Regions from separate parts of the Homo sapiens genome. Here regions 2, 3, 4, 5, 6 and 7 are each linked to region 1. Evidence: promoter capture Hi-C in 16 types of primary human blood cells and fetal thymus (Javierre and others, 2016). All regions are on one chromosome and are shown on one strand. The core of a region is centred on a gene start or on the middle of the fragment in contact, and the rest is flanking DNA. Distances in the headings are between cores, read along the strand shown.

Region 1 (3,788 bases), core at 1,148-3,647:
GATTCATTTTAATTTCTTTGAAAATGAGAAGGAAGGGGACTCAAATGAAAAAGCAGATAGTCTGCCTTCTGGCAGAATAAATCTGAACTTGACAATATCATGTGTCTTTGGGGGTAAAACGTACATTTCAACAACAGTGACAGGATTAGGCCTATGTATATTTTTCAAAAACCGTTCACAAGACAGGCTTTTCTGCAGAGGCTGCAGTAATCCATCTGTCAATAAGTATTAAAATATTCAGATTTCACAGGGACAGACACTTTAACGCATATTTCCTAAGCTCCAGCCCTTGTGGAAAATAATCAACCTCTTTGCACCTTTCTGGGTTTTAAAACCTAAAATACAGCCTTTAAAAATGTGTGTGTGTTGTGGGGTAGGGGGGTGCATTGCCAACAACATTTTCGGTGATAGATGGAACTTCTTACGGGACTGTCAATGAAAGAGATTTTCCAAATATCCCAGCAAACAGCAATCTTTCACAGCTCTGATCACTCCTCCATTATAAACCCAAATTTTGGGTTGAGATAGGTAGATTATTTTAGACATATCTTTATTAGAAATTAACAAGTGACGAGATTTTGTGGAAGCTTTAAGAATTCATCTGTAATTTAATAAGTCGCTTGAAGGACTCTCATAGCCAAGGCTCAGAACAGCCTGACCTTTGAAAGCTGCTTCTGGTCCAAACATTTTGGGCTAATTCTTGAGGAATCTGAAATATTATTTTCCCCTCACACCCTTCTTTTAAGAGAGAGACATAAAAGAAACAAGAGTCTCCCTTATTCAGGGATGAGTAGGAGGGGAAAAAACCCGAACCAACATTTAAATAAGGAAACTAGCAGCTCTGAACAAACAAACTAGGACCCACAATGAAATGATTCTGCACTGCAATTGCCTTTAAAAAGAAAGTAATAGAGAAAAAGAGAAGGAAAGAATTTCTCCTTCTTCTCTACCCCCCCCCCACCCCACCCCCCAACTCAGCTTCAAAGCTAAGAAGACTGTGCTGCGTGTAGTGCATTGTAGTTGTGGCAGTCTGTTCTAAATACAGGCAGTATCTGTGATACTGGCACGGCAGGCCTTTAGAATTCCCTCCGGCTGATCTCTTAAACACAGACTGAAGAGATTTTTTTACAACGACCTTGAAACGAGCCTCGAAAACAAAAATCTCAAGACCTTAAGAGAAAACAAAACACAAACAGGTATTTGGCTCACAGAATTTTGTAGAAAACACACACATACCACCCCGCCACCCCCACCCTCCCCCCCACACACACGTTTCTTGCAACAAGAAATTTCCCAAGAGTCAACAATAACAGATTAAACCCACCACTTGCTGTCCTGGAAAGAAACAAACCAAACCAAAACAAATCCTTTGAACATTTCTCTGAAGTGCAGGAGAGACACACTTCAGCAAAAGTCCAAGGGGGAAAAAGAAAATTGCACCAAAGGAAAAAAAAAAAAAAAAAGTGGGGGCTGGGATTGTTACATATGGCCAAAAATTTAAGCTTCTTTCAATAGTATTAGTATTGAAATAATACATCTTTAAAACGCTTGAGGGATTAGATAGGGAAAGAAAAGGCACGTACAAAAAAATCCAACCGATGCCGATCCTGTGATTTACGTAACACCACAAACTTGCAAAAGGCAAAAAATCAGAAGCAAAAATCCATAAACCATCAAAATACAGAAACCAAAAATCCCAAGCCACCACACCAGAAAGAAAAAAACCCAGAACAACAGCAAAAACCCCTGTCCTAAATAAAAATAAAGCAAATGAACCCACCGAAAACTGCTTGGCAAATATTTTTCTCGTGGTGCCTAATATTCTAGTTGGAAAGAGCTGTGATGTTTATTTTATTTTATTTTTCTCTTACTCGCCTCTCTAACCCTACTATATATATAACATACTTTTCCCAGTGGTTCAAACCTCTCGCTCCCTTTTGTGCATTTAGCTCGATCTGCTGAGTTTATGGGTAAGAAAGAAGGAATTAGCCCCAGACCCCGGGAAAGCAAAGCGCACTCCCCCTCTTATGTCACCGAATAGCAAATTAGTTCTCAGAATTCCAGAGGCCGAGCTTTGCTACAGCGAAGGCGCCGACGTCACAGAGGAGGAGCCCACGTGATGGTGGCGGAGCAGGCCATACCATCGTCTTGGGCCCGGGGAGGGAGAGCCACCTTCAGGCCCCTCGAGCCTCGAACCGGAACCTCCAAATCCGAGACGCTCTGCTTATGAGGACCTCGAAATATGCCGGCCAGTGAAAAAATCTTGTGGCTTTGAGGGCTTTTGGTTGGCCAGGGGCAGTAAAAATCTCGGAGAGCTGACACCAAGTCCTCCCCTGCCACGTAGCAGTGGTAAAGTCCGAAGCTCAAATTCCGAGAATTGAGCTCTGTTGATTCTTAGAACTGGGGTTCTTAGAAGTGGTGATGCAAGAAGTTTCTAGGAAAGGCCGGACACCAGGTGATTATTGCTGTTGCTGCCGCCGCTGCTGCTGCTACTGCCGCCGCCGCCGCTGTTGCCGCTGGTGCCGCTGCCGCCGCCGCTGCTCATGATCATTATTTTACCTTTTAATTCTTTTTTTTTCCGCTCTTGCCAAATGCTTTGGCTCCAAGTTTTCTATGTGTATCTATTGATATAAATGTATATATTTATTTATTCTAGCTGTCAGGTGTTAAAATAAATGCCGAAGATTAGTCCCACGTCTCTCCCACCATAGGATATAGATTGTTATGTATTTATTATTATTATTGTTGTCTTTGAGTGAATCGGCCGGTTTGGGGAGGCTTTTGCCACCCTCCCTTGTGTTGTTTTGGTTTTTGGAAAGGAGGTGGAGGAGAGGAAGGAGGGGAATTAGGGGGCGGCCGGAGCAGAGAGGACGAGACAGTGCTTGGGGGGTGATTCGGGCTAGTCTGGGGGCTGTCTGGCCCCAGACCGCGGAGAGGACGCGCGCTCGCGCTCTCGCTCTTTCTGCTGCTGCTTGCGTACGGCTTGTGATCTCTCTGGATTCGTGCGGCTGTGTTTTTTCCCTCTTTTCTCGCTTGCAAACTGCTTTCCTTGCTCCGTCGCTCCTGGCCTCCGCTTCCCTCCCTCCTCTTTTTCCTCGCCTCTTCTTCCTTCCCTTCCCCTGTCCTTCTGGGTAACTCCGGGAGGCAAAAAGGGAGGCTGCCCGCTCGCTCGCCCCGCTGGCTCTCTTCCATCGGCCTCGGTCTTTTAGATTCCCTGCCTTCGAGCCGAACCGAGATTTGGAAGGAAAAAATGCAAGCGAACTCTTTGGGTTTTTGTTTTTGTTTTTTTGGTCATAAATCCAGATGAGATGAAGTATCGTGTCTACTATTTCCTTTCAGAGCCGTGATCTTCCTAATGAGAGCCGAGTGTTTTGGTGTTCCCTGCCCCTGTGTTTTGGGGAGCTTGGGGGCGGGGATGTTGAACACTTTGAAAATTATTCTTTCTTGGTTGTAGTCGAGGGAGTCGGGAACCTCCGCGCGCTCTCCCTGCTCATCCCGAGGAGAGAGACTGATGGCGGGACAGGGCTTCTTGGGGTGGGTGGGAAAGGGGTGCGCACTGCACCTGCGATGCCTTTCAGTGTGCGGGGGGACTCAGGGAACCTCGACAGGACAGCCTGGGAGAACGAGAAAGGTGGCGGGATTTCTGGCCGCTGCGGTGTTTGTATTTTGGGCGCTGCGTGACTCTGTGTTGGCTCCCAATGGCTGTTGCCTCCCTTTCCTAAATTTTATTTTATTTTTTCCCATGGTGCAAGCTCTGTAAAAAGGGAACTGCGGGCCTGAGCGTAGTG
Region 2 (3,850 bases), core at 24-2,523, 1.2 Mb before region 1:
GGTATCAGATGCTATCATGCTGTCCTGGAAGTATGAAGAGTGAACGGGTACCTAATGGATGGGATGAAAGGATGGAGAAAAAGCTTGTGAGCATGTTATGAAAGGCTTCAGTGAAGAGTGGAGATGTCTTCCTTGAAGTGTTGACATCTGCATTAATCAAGGTGTCTCTTCAATTAACTAAGTGACGAGTGGCTGGGTGCAGTGAGGTATAAAGAGAGTGCTGTGGGCAGAAGGAACCACATTAGCAAGAGCATGGAGACAATGAAGAGCATGGTGTGAAGGAGAACAAAAGAACATACGAATGATGAATGAATGAGTAAATAAATGCTGTGAAATAAATAGGTAACATTGAGGGGCACTGATGGCATTTGAGCAGAAAAGTGACATAGTCAGACAAATGAACATGGCAACATCATGCTGCAGGGCTCGGTAGTATCAGAAGACAGATAAGCCTGTGACTTCTCTTATTTTTCCTATATGGTCAAATTTAACAAGTTTTATCATAAATTTTTTGATGTGCATCTTCCCCCGTGAGAACAGGTTCAAATTCTCTTTTTGTCTTGTTCACTTCTATATTTCCAGCACCTGCTAGATATCTAGTATACAGGAACCATCCAATCAACACGTATGTTGAATGAATGAGCACATGGATGAATAAATGTATAGAGCTTAAGGAAGCCTAGGACAATGACAGCGAGGACAGAAACAGATGTACCAATGCAAGTCTTCATGCAGTATTAAAATCAACATCATTTGGCAACTGCTTTAGATTTGGGGATGCAGGGTTGGGGCAAAGGTGACAGATTTTGGGATTAAGCTTGTTTGGGTGGGGCTGGAAGGTAGCACTCACAAGAGCAAGAGTGGGACCAGGTTCAGAAGGAGTTGAGGTTGGCTTTGGTCCTGTCAGGTTTGGGTTGCGATGGCAATCTTGTTTAAAATGTCCAGAAAAACTGGGAATGCAGAAACTGGGGCTCAAACGAGAAGTTAAAGCTAAAAAGAGAGGTTTGACTGCTCCCTCTAAAGAAGTATCAGTTAAAGCTGTGGGCAAGGATGGACTTGTCCAAGAGGGAGGGCGGCGAAGAGAAAGCAAACAAAGATAGTGCCTCAGGGAGGAAGGCAAGATGAGCTGAAGTCTGAAGTTTGAGAACCAAGTCTTGATCTCCTGATCCAGTTATCTGATCTCTTATGCATTCAGCTGTCCCAGAAAACACCACAGATCCTTGTTCTGCCTAGGGAGATGAGTCCTTTAAATGCATGCTGCATTTTAGCCACTAACTACAATCACCAATTCTTGCATCAACCACTAACAGTGGCTCAGAGATTGCCACTTGAGGCTGCACATTGCAAACTTATTTTCCCCTCTGATGCTATTTAGTTTCTGATGGTGTTATTAAAATAAAAGGCTATTTTTTAATGAGCTGGGAGAGAATCCACTTAACCGAATTGTTCGTAAAAGGAATAAAACACGTCAAGACTCTGCTTAGCGCCAATCCACCAATATAGGATCCTGCCTTTGCAAGAACCTTCTTATGTAAATATTTACAAGGAGAGTAAAAAAAGAAAGCGGTTTGGGGAGCCACCAGATGGAATAATACAAGAACAAACTTGAACACAGTCAAAATGGGCTTCACCAACAACAGGCGTCCTCTTAGGAATCTACCATTGCCTGGGGGGGTGAGAAAGGAAGAACAGAGAGTTAAAAGGAAAAGCGGCTTCTGGCAAAGCTTCTCTTGGGACTTATTTCAGCTAATCTCTGAAAACTAGGTTTTCGTTTCTATTAAAATCTTCAAAAACAATTTATAATAAACCCTCTAATAGTATTTATGAGTTAATTCATTATCCGTCACTTTTGCCTCTCTAACCAAGCTCTACTGTTGTCTCCCAAAGATTTTCAAAGATGCTGCTTTGGTGCTCATGGGTGGTTAAGCAGGAGTGAAGCTCTCTCCAGGGTTCTCTTCCCCAAGTCCCAGGCTGGCCCCTTTGCATTTGACTTCTGAGGCAGAAGAGTCTGTTCACGCTGCCGCACATGAGCCTATTATGCATTGTTTCCATTTCTCCGTCTACCTTGAGTAGCCTAATTACAAAGCAAGGAGCAATAACTGATATATCTATTATATGATGTTCTTGCAGCTGCTCTTTACCCTCCCCTCCCATCTCTCTGGGTCCCCTATGTAACCATTTTCTGACTCAGAGCACATTTGAAGCAAACTTGGCTCACAATGCATTTTGCAAATAAACCACAAAATAACATGATTGTAAAAAATGTTAACTGCAAAAGTAATAAATAAGAAACTAAATAAGTACGTAACCACAGAGCCTTGTCTGGCTCCTCGGCTCGCTGACCACAGCAGCTCTCTGTTGTCCGTCCTCACTACGGGACAGAGTGAGAACGCTAAGAAAAGGGGAAGACACACCATCCTCGCCCAGGGGTCTCATAGATGGAAGTTACACATAGATAGATTGTTCTCTCATTGTAAGACAGAAAGTTTTATGTCAGAGCTCCCCAATCTAGACAAGCATTGTCAGAGAAGAGGAGAAGCAGGCTGTTTGTCACCATGGTTTCATGTTCACCTATTGCTTTTGTGAGCACCTAACAGGGGTCTGGCTCTGTGCCTGGAGGCATACACATAGCATCTCATGTCACTCCTTAGCAACCCTCAGATGTGGGTATGATTAGTCCCAGTGCACAGAGGAAGAAACGGAAGTCCACCAAGAATCGAATAGCAGTTAGACCACAATATTTCACAGATGCTGCAAAGACTTTATACAGATGAGAGTGGAAAGAGGAGAGTGCAGCAGAAATACGCTGTGATGTCCTTCTCCCCCACCACCACTTCCAAGCCTGGCTGTTGAGATGTGCCCAGTGTCAAAAGAATTGGGGATTAAAACACCAAAGCCTAAATATCAGACTTGCCAATTATTTTACTTATATTTACTTTGAAACCCTGCCAGTCTAAAGACCGTCTTCACCAGAAGACTTCTGTGGCTGGGAAAAATCTCTCAAGGCAATGACCAGTGTAGTCCAGTCGAAAATGAAATGGGAAATTGAAAGCTAGGCCTGAAGCTGAATAATACAGTGCAAAATTTTCAATTCAGGGTCAGTACACAGTAATATTTTATGCCTCAGGACAGGGCTTAAGTATTAAGGACAGAAAAAGAGTCACTAATGTTTAATACATACAGAGACAGCAGCACGCTAGGCCCTATGGCCAGGACCCCTACATCACAGAACCGTGGAGGACCCTATTCACATTATCAGCTATGAATAGTGTCCCTCCTCCAGGGTCACACAACACACATGACCTGCAGAGCCCAAAACAGGCTTTTCTCAGGGAGATACCAAACACAAAACAAAAACCAGGGAAAACACAGTCTCAAGTCAATTACCAAGCAAGGGAAAGAGAAAGGTCCACATGCAAATGACAACTAGGGGAGGGGGTAGTTATAATTGCTCTGCATGAATTGAGAATGGAACCACTGCCCAGTTTACTAAGCATGCTCACATGCATTCATGCCTTTTTTTTCACAATAGCTCCACGAATAAGGGTTATTATTCTTATTTTCTGAATGGGAAAACAGGGGCTCAGAGAGGGGAAGGGACTTTTCTAAAATTTCCAACTTTTAGGTTGGAAGCCAAGACCCATATCCAAGTAGCCCCTGCCTCAGAGTTTCTCCCACTGCCCCCTCACTGGCACATTGGAAATGCAGAAGAAGAAGCATCAGCAGGAGCTCCGTGCGCCAGACTCCAGAGGGGAGTTGCAGAAAGCCTCAGTCAAGGAAGAAGCAAAAGAAACCTTAGGAGTGGAGGAGGCATAGACGCGATAAGCAGGAGTTTGGATGAGAGTGTATG
Region 3 (3,927 bases), core at 680-3,179, 1.4 Mb before region 1:
CTCCCTGAGCCCTCCCATCAGTGAAATTACTACATAATCGCTGCTCCGATTTAAAACATTTTTTAGAGTAAAAGGTAAGATTATTACTAATTATGCTGCCAAAAAGGATAAATCTGAACTGTTCTGGGCAAAGTGGGACATACGATCACGTTACTTAGAGTTGTGCAGAATTTTAGGTATTTTACCGGCCAGAGGTAACATGGCATGAGGTAAAAAGTACACATCTCATAATCAGAAGTTTTGGATCCTAGCTCAAGATCCACCATTGTTAGCAAAAATCACATATGGCCCTGAACCTCACTTTCCTCTTCTCTAAAACGCAGGTCATTCCCTGCATCTCAAACTCAGGTTATGACCTGCATTTGAGGAAGAATGTAAATGAAAGCCTGTTATAGCTGGAATATATAGCTCTACTGTTGGATTTTTTAAATAGTACTTTCAAATGGATTTTTTTAACAGACATTGGTACTCTTCACATCACATTATGAGTGTGTCCTAAGCAGTTCATATTCTGCCAGAATATATAAATGGTTGCTTGATAGTAGAGCCCTCACACTCACAGAAGGGAATCTACATTTGCCTCTAGTTTCATCCTATTACAGTCCATGTCAAGGGACTATTGGTGTTCTCTTTCATGCTGTTGTTCAGTTTTATTAACTACTGGTTAAAATAATCTGCTACGTTTTGACCATGCCAGGCCATTTTCCTCTGATAACATTTGAGTTACTGAGATTATACCTGTAAGGTCCATTTTAGGCCAGTTAAGAAAGCACTGAGAATAGAAGTTTAATTTTTTCAGGTACTACATGTAAGTTAATTCACCATTTCCTTAATGAGGAGCAATGTTTGAATTCTCTGAAGCCTCATAATCTCTCCCAGGCAGAAAGGAATCATGGATCCTAAAGACAGTCAAAATAGTTATTGTCTAGTTGAGTTCTTCTTTCTATAAATTATGAGAAAGATCTCATGGTGCTTATAACCCAACATACTCGGTACTATGCATGTGCCTAGAACCCATGGCACATGATGTATGTGCCAAGATCTGTACATACATCATGATCATCTGGTTGAGGATATTCTATATTACTCAGAGCTGAGCTTGCCATGAGTGCTTGATAACTGCATTACAATTCACTTATCATTGCCATAGTCATCAACATAATCATTTATCAGTTCAACATTCAGCTGAGAAGTTTTATTATCCCTCTTATGAAGAGTACCTTAAGTATTATCTTTGATTTATCAGCCTCCATGAGATTTTTTGTGCATTTCTCTTTCCTTCACAATGCCTAACACAAGGCCCTGTATAGAAGTAAATGTTTGATCAATGTTAGTAAAATAAGTAAAATTATTTTCATACTCCTTCCACTGTGCACATGAAACAATCATAACTTTACCATAGCTCAAAATCCTATACTTTTTTCTTCATCTGTGCTTTAGTGAAAAAAGCAATAGTCTTGGACTTAAAATAACTGAGCTTAAATAAGGAGTGAAGCGACAACTCTTTCCAACAGAGAGTTTCAGTTAATAAATATAGAGAAAATGAGGAAAATAGAAAATGACCATTACAACATCATAATAACAATGGCAACAAGCAAGATCCACCACAAGAGGCTAAAATTAGTTAATGAGGGAAAGTTTAAGTATAAACAGCATATTTTTATAGTCTCAAGTGTCACTTCTCAAAATATTTAGTAATAACAAAGGGGGAAACAGCAAATTTACAGTGGAAAAATCCAGCAGATGCCATCTTAACCAAGTGATCAGGGTTAATGTCACCAATAATATATATCAACATAATATACCTGGTATCACAGCCTGAGAAGGACGCATCCCTGCTGTGGTATCTTTTGCAATACCTTCAGTATAGTCCCAAGAAAAGATCAGAAAAACCAAAATTGAAGGACATTCTACAAAATAACTCATCAGTACTCTTCAAAAGTGTCACAATCATGAAAGAAAAGGAAAAACTGTGAGAAACTGTCACAGATGGCAGGAGACCTGACAACTAAGGCAACGTGGGACTCTGAATTGGAGCCTAGGAATAAGAAAGGACATTTGTGAAAAAATTGATGAAATATGTATAAAGTCCATACTTTAGTGAATAGTACTAAAGTTAATTTCTTAGTTTTTAATCATTGTTCCACGGGTAGATAAGATGTTAACATTAGGAGAAGTTGCTGCTGCTGTTGTTTTTGTTTTTGTTTTTCCTGAGTCTAAAATTATCTCAAAATAAGAAGTTTAAAAGATAACTGAGTTGGGCCGGGTGCGGCAGCTCACGCCTGTAATCCCAGCTACTCAGGAGGCTGAGGCAGAAGAATCGCTTGAACCCGGGAGGTGGAAGTTGCAGTGAGCCGAGATTGCGCCCTTGCACTCCAGCCTGGACAACAAGAGCGAAACTCTGTCTCAAAAAATAATGCTAATAATAAAATAACTGAGTTGAAGAGCCAACACTGACACCTACCAGTGGCATGTCCTTAGGTAAGTTACCTAAGCTCTCTCAGCCTAATCTTTCATTATCACTAAAATTAGAGAAATAGTACCAACATTTTGTTGATATGAGGTCAAAATGAGATAAGGAACATGAGGGCACTTCGAAAATTATAAACCCTTATAAAAATATCTTTATTACTTCTTAACTCTTTGACCTTTTCATCTCATTCAACTACAGTTGCCAGATAAAATATAGGACTCCAGTTAAATTTGAATTTCAGATAAACAACTTTTTTAGTATAAATATGTTTCATGTTATGGTTGAGACATACTTAAAACAATTTTTTTCTTTAGATGCCCTGTATTTTTATTTCCTAAATCTGATAAACCTACCTTGACCTGACTTCCAATACTCTGTCCCTTTCTTGAAGGTGTCTTCTTCCCTCCTCCAGGCCGTCTTTGCACAATACTGACAGCTCTGGTACAATGATTCCATGCAAGGGCCATGGCGGCCCATGCTCCAGGAGAGCTGCACAAAGGTTCATCTATCACAAGACTCTAGCAAAACGAATTCATTAAGAGTACACGACAAACAGGAATTTTCCCTTTCTGACTCATCTTGCAATTGTGCAAAATTTATTTTAAAATTTTTAAGTTATTTTTACTTCTCACTCCCCACAAAAGCCCAATGATAAAAATACTGTGCAGATTTTTTAAGCTGTGAGGAAAGATCAAAATCAGCAACAACCTATAAGATGGTCCTGGTAGACTAAAGTAGGAGCCCACCTCTTGGGACCTGTAGTGAGGTTTTGGGGAAAGAATGAAAGAGAAGAGGAGGAAGACTTTGAACACAACATTTTTACATATACCAGCTAAGCATATAGGGAATTATGCTTAACTTCACTTTCCTAGTGAGAAACTGAGTCTGAGGGAAGACAACTTAGACTCTACCTCACAAAGGCCATTGATTTCATACTTCTTTCTCTTCCATAACATCTGGACCTCAAGGTTCTACCCAGAGGCCATCTCTTTTGTGAGTTTACCTCCTTTATTCTCCAAATCAAGTATGGTTTGTTTTTCTCTGAATCTCCACATTGCTATAAAAAGACCTTAAGACCTTTACCTGGGAGTATAGCCACATGTTATTCACATTGTATTGATATCTCTTATTTTGGTCTTAAGGACAAAGGTTGTGTCATGTTCATGTCAAGATGCCCTACGGTATCTCCAAAGCAAACGTGACTTTCAAAATTGAAAGTTGAGAGGCCCATTGACCACTAACTTGGCACATTGGTTATAATATACACTGTGGCAGATACAATTTTAACTTGTGTCAATAGTTTCCATTTGTTAACATATGTCAGCACCTATATGATCTCTAAAATCCTTCTAGTTCTGACATCTTGCCTTTTAGGATCCCAGTTTTTGATGGAGCAGACACCTAAGTAATGGTTTTGTGGCCTCAATGCTATTCTGGCTACTGAAATCAAATTC
Region 4 (3,899 bases), core at 935-3,434, 1.2 Mb after region 1:
ACATGATGAAACCCTGTCTCTACTAAAACTACAAAAATTAGCCAGGTGTGGTGGCGAGCGCCTGTAACCCCAGCTGCTCGGGAGCCTGAGGCAGGAGAATTGCTTGAACCTGGGAGGTGGAGGTTGCAGTGAGCCGAGTTCCTGCCACTGCACTCCAGCCTGGGCGACAGAGTGACACACCGTTTCAAAATAAATAAATAAATAAATAAATAAAAAATAAAAGTCAAATCATGTCACTCCCCTGTTTAAAAGCCTGGAATGGCTCTTCATTTGCACTTAGAATAAAATCCCAACTCCATGCTAGTTTACAAAGCCGTTTATGCTTTGTAAACCTATTATACTCCTAACCATGCTCCAGCAAAACTTGCTTCCTTTCTTTTTTTTGTATACACCGAGCTCATTCCTGCCGAGGGCCTTTGTGCTAGCTATTGCCTTTGCCTGAAACACTGTACTCTCCCTCATGTGCTAGCATGGGTGATTCCTTCTTTAACTCATATATCAGCTTAAAGGTCGCCACCTCAGGGAGGACTTTCCCTGACCAATTAATCAAAATTAGCCCCTACTGAGTTCCTTACTCTTACACCACCCTGTTTTCTTTTCTTTATTTCTTTTTTTTTCCTGAGACAGAGTCTCGCTCTGTCGCCCAGGCTGGAGAGCAGTAGCGTGATCTTGGCTCACTGCAACCTCCGCCTCCTGGGTTCAAGCGATTCTCCTGCCTCAGCCTCCCGAGTAGCTGGGACTACAGGCGCACACCACCATGTCCGTCTAATTTTTTTGTATTTTTAGTAGAGACTGGGTTTAACCATGTTGGCCAGGCTGGTCTCGAACTCCTGACCTCAAGTGATCCACCCGCCTCAGCCTCCCAAACTGCTGGGATTATAGGCATGAGCCACCACGCCCGGCCTCCTATTTTTTTCATCCCTGGTCCCTAGACTTACACACTGAAATGCCAGTTTCATGAGAGCATGAATCTATATTGTTCTGTTCACAGCTGTATAAAAGAGCACCTTAGAACAGTGCCTGGCATGGAGTAGGTGCTGAAGTACTTTTGAGTCAAAGTTACTGGGATGGTGATCATTGTATGGCTGGCTTCTTACTCTTCAGGCCTCAGCTCAAATTTGGCACCACAAAGTGGCCTTCCCTGACCCCCCGCCCCAATTTTCATAGCATTTTTCACTATTTGAAATTATCTTATTTTATTCCTTAATATGTATTGTCTATTCTCCCTGTTATACACTCCAAGAAAGCAAGGACCTTGTCTGTTTTGTTCACTTCTGTCATTCTAGTGCGTACCACTGTGCCAGACACACAGTGGTACTCAACAAGTAACAGCAGGGTCACTGAGCTAATAAGTGGTGCAGCCTGGATCCTAACCCAGGTATGTGTAAATTTGAAGCCCCTGCTTTCAGGAAGATACCCAGTAGGGACAATGGCCACACAAAAGAGGAACTAAATTGCATTTTACGGTCTAATTTACCTTTGTATCTATCACACCTAGAGAGGCCATAAAGGAACTAAAAAAAGCAGGAAATGTCCAGAAATTCTGAAATGGAAGTTTAAAGGAAGGAGTGATGGCTTCTGCCCGGTAATCTGAAAAAGCTTCATGAAGGTGGAAACACGGCAGGAAAGCTAACAGAGTTAAGGAGCTGACACCGAGGGGCGGCAGGGAGTGCCAGTCTTGCTTCAGACGCCCTGGGCTTGAATCTTGGCTCCATCTCTTGTGTGACCTTAGGGTTGTGTTATTTTCACCTTTCTAGGCCCTAGTTTCTTCATCAGTAAAACGAATGTACTTAAAGGGCTCTTGACAAGACTTAGGAAATACACATAAAGTTGCTTTACACAGTGCTGAGACCATAGTAAGTGCTCTATAAATGCAAACTGCCATTAGTATTAGTAGCATTTCTGATGAAAGCGTGCTGATCTTACCAGCAGCTATTAGCTGACCACAGTTATGCGGAGCAACAGAAAGCTTCCTACCCCCCCGGGTTGAAAGGCGCGACACCAGAAAGCGGTGGGTCTGGCTCCAGGTGCCACTGTTGCGGACTCTCGACCCCAGCCTAGATTTTCTCAGACGCTTGAGCCGCAATCTGCCGCTCTAGCAACGGGGTCCGCCAGGTCTCGGTGGTGCGGGGCCTCGCGCTTGCGCAGTGGGCACGGCAGCGGCGCGCGGAGGAGGGTGAGGGGCGGGCCCAGCGAGCGGACGCCGGGCGCGGCGGCGCGCGGAGAAGTGCGGCGGAGCGGCGCCTGCATTAGCAGGTAACCGCGCACTGGGTGCGCCGGGGAGGGCGGTGTGGGTTAGTCAGGCTTCAGGCTTGGGTCGAGGAGGCTGCCTTCGCGCTTACCGCGTCTCGGGTCAGCTACCGACCCTGTCAGCGTGAGCGTCTGTGTTCCTGAAGTCCGGTCGCGACGCTGGGGCGGCCCACGCAGAGTCCCACCCCGGATCGCGTCCAAGGTGGCGGCGAAGCCCCAGGACAGCCGCCTTGGACCCACGCCGATCTCCCGACCTGAAAAACCTTAACCTCAGGGCACCGCCAGGGTCAGAGCCCCAGTTTATGTTTGTTTACGGATTGAGCCCTCTCGATTCTCGGAGTTAGAATGGAGGGCTCATCTCTGGGATCTGGCTGTTGACAGGGGCTCAGTACCTCACAGAGCAGCCTCTTTACATTTTGGAGAGAACCGAGGTCTTCCTCGCCTAACTTTTATCGTCTGGTTTTACTCAAAACGACTCCAGTCTCTCCACATTGGAAGACAGCTGCCTTTTGCCCTTCCACGCCCTTCTTTTGAGTTTACTCTCCCTGGTTCTTTCACCTGGCTTCCTGTCTAAGACTCTTTATTCTGGAAATTCTCTTCTGGATCCACTCCCGTTTTTAAGAGATTCTCCCAAAACTGGATTCCTAGAGTACATTTATAGTAATGCAGTTCTCAAGTCAGACCTGAATCCTAATCTAGAGCTGTGCCAGCTAAGTAGGTGTCCTTAGGGAAATCCCTTAACTTCGCTAAGCCTCATTTTTTTTTCATCGAAAATGTGTACAGTCTTAAGTACTGTATCTCCAGGTGGTTGTGAGGATGAAAGGAGGTGAAGTATGCAAAATCATGAGCATGATACCTGGTACATAGTAAGCACTCGATTGATGTCAGTTATTTTTCCGAACAGATGATTCTCGAGAGAGGCACAGTTGGCAGGCCGGGTGCGGTGGGTCACGCCTGTAATCCCAGCACTTTGGAAGGCCAAGGCAGGCGGATCACCTGAGGTCAGGGAGTTCAAGACCAGCCTGGCCAACATGGTGAAACCCTGTCTGTACTAAAAAAATACAAAAATTAGCCTGGCGTGGTGGCGGGAGCCTGTAATCCCAGCTACTTGAGAGGCTGAGGCAGGAGAATCGTTTGAACCTGGGAGGTGGAGGTTGCAATGAGCCGAGATCGAGCTATTGCACTCCAGCCTGGGCAACAGAGCGAGACTCCGTCTCAAAAAAAAAAAAAAGAGAGAAGCACAGTTTTCTTAGAATCAAATGCAAAATATAATAATAGCAATAAAATTTTCATCAGTCATATAATTGATTTTTTAAATTAGTTTTTATATTTTTAAAAAAATGATGTTGCTAATGTTGAGGAGTGCACAGTGAAGTAGGTACCAGAGTCAAAGGATGGTACAATTTGATAAAATCATTTGGAAGCAACAAGGATATATTTCACAAGCTTTAGAAATGTCAATTACTTAATTTCACAAAAGTACATCTGAAAATTTTCACACAGAAATAATTCGTAATGCAGAAAATATGAAGAAAGATGGTAGTGATAGCATTATTTACACTTGTGACAACATTTGAACTTTTGTAATGAAATTTTTTAACATACACAAAAATAGAATCAGTGAGCCCCCCACGTACCCATTACCCCAC
Region 5 (3,787 bases), core at 1,099-3,598, 1.2 Mb before region 1:
ATAAGGACACATGCATGCATATATTCATTGCAGCACTGTTAACAATAGCAAGGACATGGAATCAACCTAAATGCCCATCAATGATAGACTGGATAAAGAAAACCTGGTACATATACTTCATGGAATATTATGCAGCCATGAAAAGAACAAAATTATGTCCTTTGCAGGGACATGGAAGGAGCTGGAGGCCATTATCTTTAGCAAACTAACACAGGAACAGAAAACCAAATACCACATGTTCTCACTTATAAGTGGGAACTAAATGATGAGAACACATGGACACATAGAGGGACATAATAACACACATTGGGAACTTTTGAAGGGTGGAGGGTGGGAAGAGGAAGAGTATCAGGAAAAATAACTAATGGGTACTAGGCTTAATACCTGGTTGATGAAATAATCTATACAACAAACCTCCATGACACAAATTTACCTGTGTAACAAACCTGTACTTGTACCTCTGAACTTAAAGTTAAAAAAAGAAAAACAAGAAACAACACAACAAAGTGTTAGAATTACAGGCATGAGCCACTGTGCCTGGCCACCAATGTCTTAATCTTGGTTTTCCCCCAGAAGATAAGACGTTTCTTGGGTGTGAGCCCCAATAGGAGGGTCACTATTTATTATTCCAAATTCTGCATGCTCTGAGCTGGACTATGCCTTTGTCACATGGCTAGTGAAATCTGCCAAATGGGTAATGGGTAAGCACCACAAAGCTAAATGAATTTGATGCCAGACTTGTATGAGTGAAACAGAAAGTTTAACCAACTCTTTGAGGTTGACACATCTTCATATTTGCAGGGAAAGCAGAGCTATGAGTTTCTTGGCAAGATTCAGTCAGATTGAAATCATTCTAAGCACATGATATGAGAACTATTGACAGGAATTCACATGGATACTTACACAGCCATTATTTCCTAATTCTATTACCTAAAAATGTTTAATGCTCCTATGTTATAGTTGGTTACATGACTTTCCCAGGAAGGGATCGTGGAATCTACATGTAAAAACCAAGAGTATCAGAGATCATCTAGGTTTTACATGAAAAGATGTAGTCCAACTGGTTTAGAGAAATTAACAATGGAACTTATTTTATAAAGTCTTATGTGAAGTAACCCTCTGAGTAACATAAGTAAATGTGGAGCTGCTCTGCTGCATGTGAGTGGAAGACTAGACACTTGCAGTTGAGGAACCTAAGACAACCCAATACAGAAGTGACTCATTTAGGGTCATACAATGACAGACTGAAACCGAGGCCTTTTCTTACTTAGCAAGGAAAACATGAAGAAGCTGACAAAAATGAAAAATGAGAGGAAATGCCTAATCTTCAGACTCTCTGGAAACACTGCTCTCCAACTCTGAGAATGCATCACACGCTTCATGATTATGGTCCCCAGCTCTAGGACATCTGCTTTAGGACAAAGTGCAAGGAAATTGAGCTTTAATTGTCAGCTTTGAAATGGTGACTTAGTCAGACTGATAAGAACAGGACAAGGGAAGAACCCTTCTCATAGGAAAGAAAGCAGCAAATTTCCATAATACCAACGACAATCAACAAATATCCTAGCCTGTTCTCTAACTGTGGTCACAATGCCTTGCATTTGCATTGTTCTATAGTTTCCAAAGAACTTTTTACGTACACAGTTTAGTTTAATCTTTACAACTATCTTCATTTTGCAGGAGAAGAAACTGAGGCTTGGAGAAGCTAAGAATGTGGCTGTGCCCAATTAGTTCTTGTTTGATAATTAATTTAGGTGTTATGTAGTAAACAGAAAGAAAGATGTTAGAAATATTTTTTTGTTTGTTTTGAGAAAGGCTGTCACTCTGTCACCCAGGCTATAGTGCAGTGGAGGGACCATGGCTTACTGCAGCCTCAAACTCCTGTGCCCAAGCAATCCTCCTGCCTCAGCCTCCCAAGTAGCTGAGGCTACAGATACATGCCACCACACCCAGCTAATATTCTTATTTTTTGTAGAGATGGGGTCACGCTGTGTTGCCCAGGCTTGTCTTGAACTCTTGACCTCAAGTGACCCTCCTGCCTCAGCCTCCCAAAGTGCTAGGATTACAGGCATGAACCACCATGTCCAGCCTAGAAATCTTTCTACATATATCCAGGGATTTCTCTGGACACATTGGAGGAATGAACTGGCATATAAACCTTCCCAGTATATGAGAGATATTACCTTGACATATTTAGTAAGATTTCTATCTTCCCTTCTATCTCCCACATATCACTCAAAACAGTTATCAAGCCAAAACCACCATAAAAATGTACGCTATATATGATAATATATTAAATATTATATAATATATCTATATTAGAGATGTATATAAATATAAATTAATGTGAAAATATGTACATGTATGAAAATATTAATGTAAAAAAGTATGAAAATTTTACAGTTCAGATAAAAAAGTTCTTTTTTTCCAATTTTATTTTGGATTCAGAGGGTATATGTGCAGGTTTGTTACATGGATATATTTTGTGATGGTGGGGTTTGGCTTACAGATGATCCCATCGCCCAGGTCATCAGCATAATACCCAATAGGTTTTTCAGCCCATGCCCCTCTCCCTCCCTACCTGTTTAGTAGTCCACAGTGCCTATTGTTCCCATCTTTATGTCCATGTGTACTCAATATTCAGCTCCTGCTTATAAATGAGAATACGTGCTATTTGGTTTTCTGTTTATGCATTAATTTGCTTACATAATGGCTTCCAGCTGCATCGACATTGCTGCAGAGGACATGATTTCATTCTTTTTCATGGCTGCATAGTATTCCATGCTATATAGGTATCACATTTTCTTTATCCAATCCACTGTTGATGGGCACCTAATGCAAATCAAGACCACAATGAGATACCATCTCACACTAGTCAGAATGGTAAATAGTTCTCAAATGAAAATAATGTCTTACAGTTTCAGACAAAATAATCAACATATTTATGGTGTTTATGTGTCAGTATTAGAAATTTTTATAATATTCCATAACATTTGGTGACTATTATATGCTAGGTACTATACTAAAGATTTTGTAAATATTAATAATAATTATAACAACAAATCCCATGTTTTCTATATACCAGTTGATATGGTTTGGATCTGTGTCCCCACGCAAATCTCATGTTCAATTCTCATCCCCAATTTTGGAGGTGGGGCCTGGTGGGAGGTGATTGGGTTACGGGGATGGATCCTTCAAGAATGGCTAGCATCATCCCTTTGGTGCTGTTCTAATGATGACAGAGTTCTCATGAGATCTGGTTATTTTAAAGTGTGCAGCACCTCCCCCCCCTCTCTCCCTCCTGCCCCCACCATGTGAGACACCTGCTTTCCCTTCACCTTCCTACCATGACTGTAAGTTTCCTGAGGCCTCCTCAGAAGCAGAAGACACTATGCTTCCTGCCTAACATGCAGAACCGTGAGCCAATTGAACCTCTTTTCTTTACAAATTACTCAGTCTCAGGAATTTCTTTATAGCAGTGCAAGAACAGACTAATACACCAGTTTAGCCTGGCAGTAAATGTGGGGCTATGATTTTAGTCCCTAAACAATCTTGTACACCTACAATCCCCATAAAGTCCTTTACAACTAGTTCTGAGAAGCCTGAGGTGACTTACGTGTGCATCATTTGGGATATTTCATTTCGTTCTTACGAGTTCTTTCTTTTGACTCTGGACTGAGGCAAAACCTTCTATGCTACCATCCGAAATTCCACTGCATATGAGCTATTAAACATGCAGACATCACTCATAGTTGCACACTCAAAGCATCAGAGCTACTTCGTGCAG
Region 6 (3,645 bases), core at 395-2,894, 1.0 Mb before region 1:
CACGAATAGATCTCATTAAAGAAAAACCTTGATTAAATGTTCTTATGAGGGAAAGAAGTAAAAAAAAAAAAATGGTTAGAATTTCCATTATTTGAATTCACCCAGTTCTTCCAAGTACGCGATTAAATATCTCCCGGATAGTTTTCCTTCTCATAAGCATAGTATAGTAACAACAAACCAAAGAAGAAGGGGCTGGCATCCTACAGAATCACAGAGACCCATACTATGCCTGGAATGGAGATAGAAACTTGAGCCCACACACTGTAGAAACCTATTATTTAATCAGATTAGACCTTCTCCAGTTTTGTTACGCACTCAGAAAAGCAAGCAAACATGTAAAAATGCGAGGAGTATGTCTGAAAGGTTATAATAATTTCCTAAAGCCCAGTGAATTTCACTGCACATGTAAGGTTCCCACATTCAGAAATATTAAACAGTTTCAGAAACATCATTAAAGTTAATCCCAGAATAACATTTATTCCACTACTTTTCCTGAAGAGGCCCAGTGTGCTTTACTAGGATTGTCTCATTTCTTCTTCATGGAAAATAACTGCCATCGTCCCCATTATATAGATGAGGCAACTGATACTTAGAAAGAGTAAATAATTTTCCCAAGGAGGGGAGGCACTAAGTGACGTAACGAAATTCAAATTCATGTTCTTCCCACCCTGTTACACTGTTTCCCAATACTGTCTATATGATTTCAAGCTAACAAGGGTTGAAACAAAACAACTGAAGAAGGCTGCTGCCACAGTAGCATCATTAAAGTAGCAAAAATCAACTATGGAGTCAAAAAGGGATAAAAAATAGACAGGAGCTATAAAAAAACACAGCAGTATGTGTTTACTTGGTGTAAGGACAACCCTGGGTGCCTCTACACACTCTGCCAACATCACTACCTTAGGGCTCGTGGCAATAAATAATTTCATAAACGTGGTGCCAAGCCATTGTGAATGACACCCGGTTTAGTCTGTTTAAAAAGGCAAGGAATTATGTAATGCCTTTCTTTTTTCAATAAAGATTTCAAAGATATTTGAAATATTCTTATATTCTAAAGAGGTAAGCTTTTGTTTACTAGACTTTCGCTTATGCATAATTGCTCCTTCCAGATCAACAGTACATTACTTTGTTTATCTTTATGTTTAGGAAAATGAAAACCATGTAGCATCTGCAAAGAATCTAAGACTGTGGAGCGTGAATAACGGAATGCAGCCTTGGTTCTGACACTAATGATAGGTCATACGAAGTCGCTTTCCTCTTCTGTATGTCTTGGCATTCTCATTGCTAAAGAGAGTAATTACGCAAATGATTTTAAGATTTTTTTTCCAACTCTACCACTGTATGGCTCTACATGTGTTTAAGCTACCTTTGGAAAGAAATGATGTTACATGTATTAAGTTACCTTTGGAAAGAAAACGAAATAAAATTGAACCTAAGACAGATGCAAAGCCATATTTAATCCTACGAAGCCTTAATCTTGATGAACTTTCAGATCTGTGCTACAGACCCCAAGGTTACAATGGGTTAGAGCTGCCAAGTTATAGGAAAATACCAACCAGGCCAAAAACGTCTTCAATAAATGTGAACCTTGTAAAGCCAAGTATGACTCCCAATACCTTGGTAAAGAAACCAAGGTGTCTTTTATGTTGAAATCTCTGGGCACTGAGGGACAAACCATGACTGTTTTGTGGGTTTACATAACAAACAAACAAAAAACACTACTTTTCCCATCAACATGTGTTAAACAAAGATTAAAATCATGCTGAAGGATAGCAAAGAAATTTACAATAGATGAAAAAAGTCTGTGTTCATTCATCAAATTACTCTACCAGAGAATAGTTTAACAGGTAGATTAAGTAAGTAGCATTGTAAAACGCTAAGGTAACATGACTGAGAATTTTTTAGTTACCCAGGTATATTATTAAAATATAGTTTTTGTGTTCTGTAATAAAAGAAAACAATGATTAGCTCAGTCAGCATTACTGTTCATTTCTCTTTAAGGTGCTTTATAATAAACAGTTCCCCTGTTTGCATCATTAAAAACCTGTTGGATAAGAGGGGGAAGAAACATTTTGGTAGATAAAAATGGACTCAAAGGGCCCAGTATTCTGGAAGAGGACTGACAAGTCCAGAGATTCTGTAAAGTTTCCTTGAAACTACTGGGCACTTCAAATGTAGGGTGAGATCTTATAAGAGGTGTGACTCAGCTACTTGGAAAGCTTTCTGATGCTTTAAGAAAGAAAATTTTAGCTTGTACATACATGCTAGAAAGCCACAGGCTGATGATCTTCCCAGCAGACCACTAACTGAATGGCAGTCCCATGCTAATACACCTTTCTGACTGCTTATGAATGGGGGATGTGTAGAAAAAAATTACAATATGCTAATTTACATGCGCGCACGCACACACACACACACACACACACACACCCCACACACACATTTTGAAGTCTAGGAAGAAGCAAAGATCTGATGGCTATATTCTATCTAGAGTGACTGGCATTCAGCCACAGAAGACATCTTTGCAAAGTGCTTGAGGAACAAATCTGGAACTTACAATGTAGCAGGGCTCGCAGTATGCTTTCTTTTCCACAGCATAGAATGGCTGCCCTCGGAGCTTGTTGTTGCAGATGATGCAGGTAAAACAATCCACGTGGAAGACCTGATCCATGGCAGTGCATCCTGTACCTTCCCCAACTACGTTTTCTCCACAGCGAGCACAGCGGCCTGGAAAAAAAAGGGTTTGATAAGAACACACCAAGGAGTACTTCAGTCCTGCTAAAGCCAAAGTGGAGGAGAAAGCAGGTTCATAACGTCAGCAGCAATAGAACCACCACTCCTGCCGTCATTACCCCAGTACTATTACCCCATTACCCCAGCAAGATCACCAGTACAGCCACCCCTATCCTCTGCAAGATTGGCATGGAGGGGATTTTACATTAATCGGTTGAGGGGATTGAGTCTCATAGTCTAAGTTCTTGCAGAAAGGAACAGTAGAACCCGGTCGCTGGCTTTGAGGTCAGTGCTCTGACTCTCATCTCACATGCAAGTATAAAAGGAACATGACTCAGGATGTTTGGAGTGGAAGGCAAAATCTATAAAACAGTACAGAAGAGTCTTTCTTCTTGGAGATTCTACACATCCAGTTAGAATGTAAGATAATTGGGTCCAAACTCAAATTTTAGTTCCTTTTACAAAAGCCCTGATTGTAAAACCTCTGCAGCCAGCTCTCAGTGACAGGCAGATCCCAAGGCAGTCCTTTAATTTCTAGATCGCTTTGATGGCTAAAAGGTTCTTTCTCCTACTGAGCCATAGTGCTTCCTCATTCTAACTGCTTACCCCATGGTTCTAGTTCTGTCTTCTGAGACCTTATCTCTCTCTTGGACTTGACATCCTTTAATACATCAAAATTCAGTAAGCATTGCTTCCAAGTCTGTTATTCCTTTGAACATCCACACATCCTGCAATAGTTTCATATACTGTAGGGTTTTGAGTCTTTCAGGGCCACGGTTCTCGTTGTTCATGCAGTATTCTGCGAAGCTCCAGCATTCTTAAATTGATTAATGTGGCATCTGGCCTACATATGGACATCAGGTTTCAGTTTTTAAAATTTGCAGTAAGCTTTAAATAATAACAATAAAATAT
Region 7 (3,853 bases), core at 989-3,488, 1.2 Mb before region 1:
AGCCAATGATCTATCGCCTGAGAGCACAGCAGAAGAGACAATGATCAGGATATAAACACAGGCATTCGAGCCGGCAATGGCAACCCCTTCAGGTCCCCTCCCTTTGTATGGGAGCTCTGTTTTCACTCTATTAAATCTTGCAACTGCACTCTTCTGGTCCCTGTTTGTTACGGCTGGAGCTGAGCTTTCGCTCGCCGCCCACTGATGCTGGCCGCCGTCACAGACCCACCGCTGACTTCCATCCCCCTGGATCCCGCAGGGTGTCCGCTGTGCTCCTGATCCAGCAAGGCGCCCACTGCTGCTCCTGATCGGGCTAAAGGCTTGTCATTGTTCCTGCACAGCTAAGTGTCCGGGTTCGTCCTAATCGAGCTGAACACTAGTCACTGGGTTCCATGGTTCTCTTCCGTGACCCACGGCTCCTAATAGAGCTATAACACTCACCGCATGGCCCAAGATTCCATTCTTTGGAATCCGTGAGGCCGAGAACCCCACGTCAGAGAATACGAGGCTTGCCACCATCTTGGAAGCAGCCCGCCACCATCTTGGAAGCAGCCCGCCACCATCTTGGAAGCAGCCCACCACCATCTTGGGAGCTCTGGGAGCAAAGACCCCTGGTAACAGAAGCATGTTCCACATATCGTTGAGTTGTTGTCAAGATGTAGATGTTGTTCTTGCATACTGGAAAATCACCTCCTACTTCGAATATCTTCTTGATTCTCTCTCCTGCTGTGCCCTTCTAACCAGCACATGAAGCCTAAGTTCCCTTTCTCTTGACTCTCTCCTACCCCACACTGCAAGTAATCAAATCGGAGTTCTCCCTGACCATGATGAAGTTTGTGTCCCCATTAAGGAAATAATAAACATGGGGAAAATATCCCACATAGAGCTAGAAAAGAATTCTCCTAAAAGTAGAAACTTTAGCTTTGACTGATAGAAAAGGTATACCCCTGAATGTTTCCAAACTTAAGTCACAAGGAAGCCCAGCCAAGTACCAGACTGGTGTGAAATAATTTCCCCAGGTGAAGAGTACCACACTATTAGTCGACCGTGCAATTGAAGAAGAGAACGTTGCTTTTCACCAGTCATCTAGGGTCTGGAATGGGAAGGCACGAGGCCAGTGTGATGTAGACATACTCAGCTCTCAAAGAATTTTTCCTTGAAAGAGAAAAACAAAGGCAGGATGAGAACTCAATCAGCTGCTTCCTTCGGGAGACTGGGTGTAGCAGGACGGGCCCCTCACAAATATGCCAAGAATGAAGCTTTTAAATTACCACCACCAAGAATACTGGGTCAGAAGTTCCTAGAATTACTTCCTACTTGGATCAAAGAAGCATAGAGGTACAACAAGGTCTGACATCAGATGTGAAGTGATTTTGAACCCTGACCCACACTCCGATCCCCTTGGAGAACATAACTACTCCTGGAGGTGGAAGCGGATCCTGCCTTAATGGATAAAAACTGAGACAAGTCTTTTGTTCTTTTTAATACCCCAAAGGGTTGAGCTTAAGCCTTTCTGTAGGAGCAAAGACATCACCGTAAGGCAAACAGTGCTAGTACAGAACCATAAAACCCTTCTCAGCATCTAAAGGATACCCATTATGTTCATCTCAAAGTCAGAGTTATTTACTTTGCCTTTTACGTTGACATTCTTTTCTCTACTATGATAGTTAGCAAAATTGAATGAGAAAAGGCCCAAGTTCAAAATCCGCTCTGCTGCTTACAGGCCTTCTTGGTTTCAATAGTCAAACCCAGTGATGATTCTTGCCTGAGCAATCTCAGGTTGTTATGAGGAGTAGAGAATATGTAAATATGGGAAAGGGCTTTGTGACTATTCAGCTCTCCACATGTAAGCGGTTGTAATCATTCACTGACTAAACCTATCAGGTGGATTTTCTTCAACCTCAGTTGCTGCTTCATTCTCCCTTAGGGTCATGAAGTATCAGCAAGAGGCTGTTACTAGTTTTCTTGGGCTGCCTCCTGTCTGTCTCAGTCTGTATCTACAATGGAACCGACAATGAATCATATCTGTGGAGCACCAGGCAACTCAGCACTCCAGTCTGTTAAAGTGTCTTGCACTGCTTATATTACAGCAAATAAAACAGGAAAGGAAAATATATTTATTCCCATCATTAATAATCCATCATGCCTAGTCAAATTGGTCATAGTAAACTGGAACAATCACTCTTGCCTACAACAGTCTCAATATAAGGGAGTTCATTGTGCTAGCTGGGAACTTGGGACCAGATCATCCTGGATCTCAGTGGGCCACTTTCTGGCTGAGTGACCCCACAAAGGTCACTTAATTCCTCATAATTTCCTTATAGATATAATCTTGGTTAATAATAACAACCTATGTAAAGAGTGAGCATATTAAGTTAAATGAGGAAATAATGATAAAAGTGTTACATAGTAAGTCCGCAAGCACATTTGGGTTCCCTTCTTCCTTGCAGGTGAAGGGAAAATAAATAATAATAATGATAGCTGGCTGGGCAAGGTAGCTCACACTTGTAATCCCAGTACTTGGAGAGGCTAAGGAGGGAGGATTGCTTGAGCACAGGAATTTGAGACTAGCCTGGGCAATATGGCAAAACCCTAGCTCTACAAAAATGCAAAAATTAGCTGAGTACGGCAGCATGCACCTGTAGTCCTAGCTACTCAGGAGGCTGCAGTGGGAGAATAGCTTAAGTCTGGGAAGTTGAGGCTGCAGTGAGCTGTGATTGTGCACTGCACTCCAGCCTGGGTGACAGAGCAAGACCCTGTCTCAAAAAAAAAAAAAAAAAGTAAATAATGATAGGTAATACTTACATAGCATCTATGATACAGCAGGCACTGTTCTGAGAGTTCTACTTATTAATATATTAGCTCACCTAGTCTTTGCAACTCTGAGATAGAATGCTGTTTTCATCTAACCTTTACAGGTGGGTAAGCTAAAGCTCAGTGAGATTATATACTTACCTGGGGTCACATAGCTCACAGGGACAGAACCAGGATTTAACTCAGGTGCTCTGACACTACAGTGCTGTGCTAACCTACCATGCTACAACGCTGCCCATGATTATGGATATTAATCCACAGGCTTCTTTCAACTTTATATTCTGAGAGCTGAAACATAGGCTTTTTACCCCTAATTAATATGGCATGTCTTCCTAGACAATATATATTCTAATTACATTTTTAATATCTGTCATTTGTAATGATTCAGCTTCTGATAAGCTTGTTAACTGAATGTCATTTTTTTCTCCACCTAAACTACCTTTGGAAAGTTCACACACATCATGCAGTTATTTATGATTTGAGGAAGAGCATCATATATGTAAACTAAAAAATGTTTATTAAAGTTAGAATTAATAATGATTGATTTGATTTCACTGATGAGTTAATTGGGGAAATGAACAGGTAATTGGGTATTTACAAAAGAAGGTCAAGAATGGTTTGTGGGAGTAGTCAGTCAGATCCATTTCCTAAGCTTTTGCTCAGCCTTTCCTTCCTAAAACCCAGCCTGCTGGGGAGCAGGAAAAGAAAGCAAGGCACCGTACATTTGCTTACGACTGACACACTTTTCTCACAAAAGCTGTGCTCTGATCTGATCTACTCTGACACCTCCAAAGGCACTTTTGTCTACAGAATAAAACCAAACCTCATCTGTTTCTCAAGGGTCCTCCGCACTCGTCTGGCTCCAGACCGCTTGTTCATGACTGTCTTCCAATAAGCTTCAGACCCTTGCCATTCCCCCAAAAAGATTTTTCCCCCCAAAATCTCTAAGCTCTCCATTGCTCCAACAGGCCCTTCCCTCTCTAATTCTGCCAAAGTTCTAGTAAGTTTTCAAGACTGTTTCTGGGGTGTCCAATCTTTT

What was found. Contacts are between HindIII fragments. The CHiCAGO score rates a contact against its expected background, and 5 or more counts as called.
Region 2: a contact is called between a fragment that was not itself captured here and the fragment with the promoter of BCL6 in region 1, in 2 of 17 cell types (erythroblasts and naive CD8 T cells). The highest score is 7.3, in erythroblasts.
Region 3: a contact is called between a fragment that was not itself captured here and the fragment with the promoter of BCL6 in region 1, in 6 of 17 cell types (naive CD8 T cells, naive CD4 T cells, total CD8 T cells and 3 more). The highest score is 16.8, in naive CD8 T cells.
Region 4: a contact is called between the fragment with the promoter of TBCCD1 here and the fragment with the promoter of BCL6 in region 1, in 2 of 17 cell types (total CD8 T cells and naive CD8 T cells). The highest score is 6.1, in total CD8 T cells.
Region 5: a fragment that was not itself captured here is called in contact with the fragment with the promoter of BCL6 in region 1 in 1 of 17 cell types (naive CD4 T cells); the score reaches 6.7 in naive CD4 T cells.
Region 6: a contact is called between a fragment that was not itself captured here and the fragment with the promoter of BCL6 in region 1, in 3 of 17 cell types (naive CD4 T cells, total CD4 T cells and naive B cells). The highest score is 9.3, in naive CD4 T cells.
Region 7: a fragment that was not itself captured here is called in contact with the fragment with the promoter of BCL6 in region 1 in 5 of 17 cell types (endothelial precursors, megakaryocytes, total B cells and 2 more); the score reaches 12.2 in endothelial precursors.

What each region holds. Positions count from the first base shown.
Region 1 is chr3:187,744,077-187,747,864 of GRCh38, reverse strand. BCL6 (BCL6 transcription repressor) reads left to right here and starts at 2,397. Exons shown (of 10, transcript NM_001706.5): 1 at 2,397-2,455. BCL6-AS1 (BCL6 antisense RNA 1) reads right to left here. Exons shown (of 2, transcript NR_173091.1): 2 at 1,839-2,621. RefSeq lists an enhancer at 2,759-3,284. The HindIII fragment of the contact is 3,720 bases long and covers 1,505-3,788 here.
Region 2 is chr3:188,973,871-188,977,720 of GRCh38, reverse strand. No RefSeq gene overlaps it. Among named protein-coding and RNA genes, the nearest start is that of TPRG1-AS1, 28 kb to the right of the region's middle. The HindIII fragment of the contact is 907 bases long and covers 820-1,726 here.
Region 3 is chr3:189,127,268-189,131,194 of GRCh38, reverse strand. It overlaps a transcript of TPRG1 not described here. Among named protein-coding and RNA genes, the nearest start is that of TPRG1, 43 kb to the left of the region's middle. RefSeq lists an enhancer at 1,981-3,180. The HindIII fragment of the contact is 5,198 bases long and covers 1-3,927 here.
Region 4 is chr3:186,565,624-186,569,522 of GRCh38, reverse strand. It overlaps TBCCD1 (TBCC domain containing 1), which reads left to right and starts at 2,184. Exons shown (of 8, transcript NM_018138.5): 1 at 2,184-2,256. RefSeq lists a silencer at 1,991-2,280. The HindIII fragment of the contact is 1,727 bases long and covers 1,972-3,698 here.
Region 5 is chr3:188,912,257-188,916,043 of GRCh38, reverse strand. No RefSeq gene overlaps it. Among named protein-coding and RNA genes, the nearest start is that of TPRG1-AS1, 33 kb to the left of the region's middle. RefSeq lists a silencer at 1,270-1,564. The HindIII fragment of the contact is 9,743 bases long and covers 1-3,787 here.
Region 6 is chr3:188,759,195-188,762,839 of GRCh38, reverse strand. LPP (LIM domain containing preferred translocation partner in lipoma) reads right to left here. Exons shown (of 12, transcript NM_001375462.1): 9 at 2,558-2,727. Among named protein-coding and RNA genes, the nearest start is that of MIR28, 72 kb to the right of the region's middle. The HindIII fragment of the contact is 1,155 bases long and covers 1,067-2,221 here.
Region 7 is chr3:188,934,947-188,938,799 of GRCh38, reverse strand. No RefSeq gene overlaps it. Among named protein-coding and RNA genes, the nearest start is that of TPRG1-AS1, 11 kb to the left of the region's middle. RefSeq lists enhancers at 301-802, 922-1,423. The HindIII fragment of the contact is 1,954 bases long and covers 1,262-3,215 here.